Linked DNA regions of Homo sapiens: region 1 is linked to region 2. The links are contacts of gene promoters, found by promoter capture Hi-C in human tissues and cell types (Jung and others, 2019). All regions are on one chromosome and are shown on one strand. The core of a region is centred on a gene start or on the middle of the fragment in contact, and the rest is flanking DNA. Distances in the headings are between cores, read along the strand shown.

Region 1 (2,700 bases), core at 48-2,547, 62 kb after region 2:
TTTAGTGAGACGGGGTTTCACCATGTTAGCCAGGATGGTCTCGATCTCCTGACTTCGTGATCCGCCCGCCTCGGCCTCCCAAAGTGCTGAGATTACAGGCGTGAGCCACCGTGCCCGGCCTTTTTTTTTTTTTTTTTTAAGTTGAGGCGGGGTTTCACTGTGTTAGCCAGGATGGTCTGGATCTCCTGACCTCATGATCTGACCGCCTCGGCCTCCCAAAGTGCTGAGATTACAGGCATGAGCCACCGTGCCCGGCCTTTTTTTTTTTTTTTTTTTTAAGTAGAGGTGGGGTTTTAACCATGTTGGCCAGGCTGGTCTCTAACTCCTGACCTCATGTGATCCGCCCACCTCAGCCTCCCAAAGTGCTGGGATTACAGGCGTGAGCCACCATGCCTGGCCTAGAGTCCAATTCTTAAAGAGAATCCACAGCGAGAAGGAGGAACCCTGGACATCCCAGTCCTTTAGTGGGTTGTAATGTAGGACACTGAAAGTTAAGGGGGTCCTATTAGAAGCCAGAAGGGAATAGGCAAATGTGAAGAGTCCTGTAATGGTCAGGACCTAAAATCCAGACTCAGAACTGTCAAAGCCAGTGGTTCTTAAAGGAACTTTTCTATTTCAGCATTTTAAACATTAACATTTTTTATTGCAAGTTTTTGTACTACATGTGTAATTATAAAAAATGAAAACTTGTATACCTAAAAATCCGAATTTCAGTTTTTGAATTTTGTTTCATTTTTTTAAGCTCTGGAAAAGAAATGCATTCCACATTAAACCCTTCACATTGCACATAAAGGAAACTAAATTCAGAGTTAAAATGTGCCTGTCCGTGGCCATGGGGTGCAGAATTAGGCAAGAACTTCAGTTTTCAGACTCATCAGTCCATACTACTACATTCTTGTCAGGTTGAGATCAGTCTCTTTGCCCTGAAGCTTACTGGTTGTTTAGAGGAGTTTCTTGAGGATAGAGACTACATCTTATTCATTTTCTGTCCCTCCAACATAGTAAGTTAGTGCTGTACAGAATAGGCATGTAGCACACATTTGTCAAATGAAAGGATGGATGGATTAGATGGATGGTTTTGGCTTTTATATTAGACTTTGAAGGAATGCTAGAGTTTAGCTCTGTGGAAATTCTGGGCATGAGATGTATACATGAACTGTTAGATTTGCTGAATATTGGACATCTGAACGGAAATAGTGAGAAAATACTGTAACTGCAGTGGCTCACACCTATAATCCCAGCACTTTGGGAGGCCAAGGCAAGAGGATTGCTTGAGCCCAGGAGTTGGAGACCAGCCTGGGGAATATAGAGAGATCCCGTCTTTACAAAAAACATCCAAAATTTAGCTGGGTGTGGTGGTGCACACCTGCAGTGCCAGCTACTCAGGAGGCTGAGGCGGGAGGATCGCTTCAGTCTGGGAAGTTGAGACTGCAGTGAGCAGTCATTGCGCTATTGCACTCCAAACTGGATGACAGAGCAAGACCCTGTCTCGAAAAAAAAGTGGCGGGGGGTAGGGGGGTCGGTATGTTAGGTTTTACACAGTTCATATTATAAACTAGGTTAATACCAGTATATAAAATGAAATAAGTTAATGAAAGGCATGACGTTTTACAGGAAAGGTGCATTACATCATTATGTAGAGGTTGAGTATTCCTTATCTAAAATGCTTGGAACCACAAGTGTTTCAGATTTGGATTGTTTTGAGAATTTGGAATATTTACGTTTTACTGAATGAGCATCTCAAATCTGAAATGTTCCACTATGCATTTCCTTTGAGACATGTCAGCACTCAAAATGTTTCAAAAAATGTTGGAGCATTTTAGGTTTCAGATTTGGGATGCTCAACCTGTACTATCAACAGAATAGCTGTTTAGCATTAAATAATATTTTGCTTAGCCCACAGGTTGAAAAATCTTTAATTTTTTAAACTTGAATTTGAGAGGAGAATATTGATCTTAGTCAGTACTCCTCTTAATTGAAAGCCTTGAAGTTTTAAAAGGAATTATCATTTTTTTAGTTCTTTACGCATCTAGAACAGTCAGCTGACTGTATAAATTCTGAATCGGTGAAGTTTTACCATACTTTAACACTCACTTTTAACATTTTTTAGTGTATTTTCCTAGCAGTATATGGCGTAAAAATACTCACACGTATACTGTTGGTTTTTCTCTAAGTAACTTGTTTTCATCCTTCTTTTCAGGATCTCACTGGCATCGAATCTATGGATCAGTGTCGCCATACCTTGGAACAGCATAACTGGAACATAGAGGTATAATAGGATGTGTTCTGAGCTTATTTCTTTTTCTCTGGTCTGATTAAGAGTCAAAACCGTATGTTTTTCCATAGCAGGAATCTTTTCAGTAGATTTTTTTCAGAATTATGACTCTAAAAATAAAAGTGCAGGAAGGTAAAGAATGTGAGAAAGTTTATAAAATCATAGAAAAATTTGTGACTAAATCCCTCAATATAGTGCCCCACCCCCTACTGTTTGTTAGTATCTTGTTGGGAAAACAATTGGTTTTTGTATATTTAGTTTTTAACCAGATGTCTTGATGTGAACCTTCTTCTTACATATTTTATAGTTTATTCTTTGGGGTTGTCTAGGTAGTCATGTTCTCTGCAACTCTTCTCCTTGACCATTGAATTAGCAAGAACTTTAAAACACTGTCAGTTGATAATGGTAATAGCATTTTGTCCTCA
Region 2 (2,700 bases), core at 67-2,566:
GACCACCTTTGGAAAACCATTAAGTCGACAACTACAAAACCCTGAAGGGCCCTACCGCATCTGACTGATGCCTCTTTGTGGCCCACACTCCGGTGTCTAACTCAGAGCCAGACACTTGGTAGGCAGTGTGGTCAGGTGGAGAGGGCTTCAAGTCCGACAGGAACAGGTTTAAATTCACGGCCAGGTGTGGTGACTCACACCTGTAATCCCAACACTTTAGGAGGCAGAGGTGGGAGGATTGCTTGAGCCCAGGAGCTCAAGACCAGTCTGGGCAACATAGCGAGACCCCATCTCAAAAAAAGGAAAAGAAAAAATATATATGTAAAAGAAAAAGAAACAGGTTTAAATTCTTGATCTGCCACTTACTAGTTATTTCAATAGCATACTCCCTTGAGCCTCAGTTTTACCATCTCTGAAATGGGTTCAATCACGTGTATGAAGTGATTAAATGTAACCAAGGCGCTTAGCCCAGCGACTGCCGAATGCCAGGCGGTCACCGGGGAAGGTTAGTGAGTTCCTGGAGCACCCAGGATCCTCTTTTTTCCCAGCTGCAGGAGAGAGCTAAGCCTGAGGGGCCAGGAGGGCTGTGTTCTGCCCACACCTGCACACTTAGCTGGGAGCCTGGGACACCCAGGCTATTAGGAGGCTCAGGAGGGACTCTCAAAACTGAGGTGGGGTTGGATTCCAGAGCCGGGCAGTGGGGAAGCTGGCCTGGGGATGAAATGTCATGACCGAATTCCTGTCCCGGGAGTCACCAGATCCACAGCCCCAGGCGAGGCCTCATCCCCAGCTCGGAAGTCCTACATGGAGATCTCCAAGAAGATTCTTCCCCACGTCTCCCAGCTCCTGCCCCGGGTGGCCTAGAGCAGGCTCTCTTCCCTGTGCCCCTGGGCCCCGGCCGGGGTCCCCCGGGTGCGCGCCCTGAGCCCCTCTCCAGGCCCCGCGCTGACTCACCCCCACTCGTGGGGCCCGGCTGCGCGGGGGCCGCATGGCTGCCGGCAGGTGCCCCGAAGCCCTCGTCGTTCTCTATGCCTGCAATCTCGCTCTCCTGCTGGGCCAGGAAGGCGGCCGCCGGGTCCTCCTCCGCCGCCTCCGGGGCACCGCTCTCCGACGACGAGAAGAAGCCAAAGTCATCAGCCATTTTCCCCGCGCCTCCGCCGGAGCCTCCGCTGCGCTCGGCTCTGCCCGCGCCTGCCCCGCGCTGCGTCCGGCGGCCGCGACGCTGTCACCCGAGCCGCGGGGGAGCCGGCGTCGGCGGGGACGGGCTTGGCGCGGACCGCACTTCCTCTCCGCCACCGGGCCCGGCTGGCTGTCACTGCGGTGCGGGCGCCGCGGCGGGAGGAGCGGAGCCGGAATGCGGTGACGTCACCGCGGGGGCGGGGCCGCAGGGCCGGGAGGTCGCCGAGCAGCGGCCGCAGGAGGGCGCCTCAGGACTGGGCGCAGCGCTGGGCCCGGGACCGGCGCGGCGCTTCCCTCCCTCCGCAGCGGCGCCCAGCTGCTCGCGTCGAGGACACCTGGGCTAGGCACTGCTCCCGCCCGGCCTGGAGGCGAAACGCAGGGCACAGAGTGGCCGTACCGTGCACAGAGCTGCGACAGGAGGCCACCTCTGGCCTCGGGAGCGCAGACCTGGCTCCTGATTCATTCTGCAGAAGTTTCTTCTCCTAGGTTGGGATGTCATGCACCTCATTCTATGAGCCTCCGCCTCTGTAAGAAGAGGAAAATTGAGGCTGGGAAAGGCTGCCCCGCACCTTTTCATGCAAGTCCAGGTCCTTTCCCACTAGGCCGTGTTGTTTTGTGTATTTTTTTGTGTATCTCCCTTGAGGAGGCTTCAGTTCATACGACCAGAGTTTGGATGGCCAGCTAGGCCCCTTAAATGTCCTTTAGGTATGAACCAGCCTGAGAAAGGCAGACCTGGTTTACCCAGGCAGCCTACCACTCTCCACGCTGCCCGCTGCCCTCTGTGAACAGGCTCTGAATGCCTCCTCCCTGCCTGCGCTTTGCCAAGCACCAGGACAGCAACGTTTTATAAAATCCAGCCATGGCCATGCGGAGATTACAATCCGGTGAGACCAACAGATGGCAAATGGCCTGTCAAAGCACTGTGTGTGAGGCGCTGTGACATTTAAACACGGGGTATAGGGAGACGATGCAAAGAAACACCATGGGATTTGGGCTGTCTGCTATTTCTAATGTGGGACTTGAAAGGCAACTATGAAATATGGACTGGAAGAGCGAAAGGAAAGATGTGCCGCCAAGTTGGGGGTGGAAGTGGAGTTGGGGTGAAGGGACCTTCCAGGTGTTTTTTTTTTTTTCTTTTTAATTTTTTTATTTAGAGACAGGGCCTCGCTATATTAACTGGGCTGGTCTTGAACTGCTGGCCTCAGGGGATCCTCCTGCCTTGGTCTCCCAAAACACTGGGATTACATGTGTGAGCTACCAAGCCCAGCTGGAACTTTCAGTTTAATTGGTAACAACTTGAGCACCTTTTGATGTTACTGTTTTTGGGGGGGTTTTTATTGTTTTATTTAATTAAATTAATGTATTTATTTATTGCTGTCCATTTGCATGGTTTTGTTGTTGTTGTTTGTTTGTTTTTTGTTTTGAGACAGGATCTTACTCTTGCCCAGGCTAGAGTGTAGTGGTACGATTATAGTTCACTACAGCTTCAACTCCTGGGCTCAAGTGATCCTCTCATCCTCA

Evidence for each region. Contacts are between HindIII fragments. The study calls those that stand out against the background at their distance.
Region 1: a fragment that was not itself captured here is called in contact with the fragment with the promoter of CLTB in region 2 in 2 of the 25 tissues and cell types used here (liver and spleen).

What each region holds. Positions count from the first base shown.
Region 1 is chr5:176,476,988-176,479,687 of GRCh38, forward strand. FAF2 (Fas associated factor family member 2) reads left to right here. Exons shown (of 11, transcript NM_014613.3): 2 at 2,201-2,269. Among named protein-coding and RNA genes, the nearest start is that of FAF2, 30 kb to the left of the region's middle. The HindIII fragment of the contact is 5,477 bases long and covers 1-2,700 here.
Region 2 is chr5:176,415,223-176,417,922 of GRCh38, forward strand. CLTB (clathrin light chain B) reads right to left here and starts at 1,317. Exons shown (of 6, transcript NM_007097.5): 1 at 955-1,317. The coding sequence starts at 1,141. RefSeq lists silencers at 820-899, 1,010-1,109, 1,150-1,609. The HindIII fragment of the contact is 14,544 bases long and covers 1-2,700 here.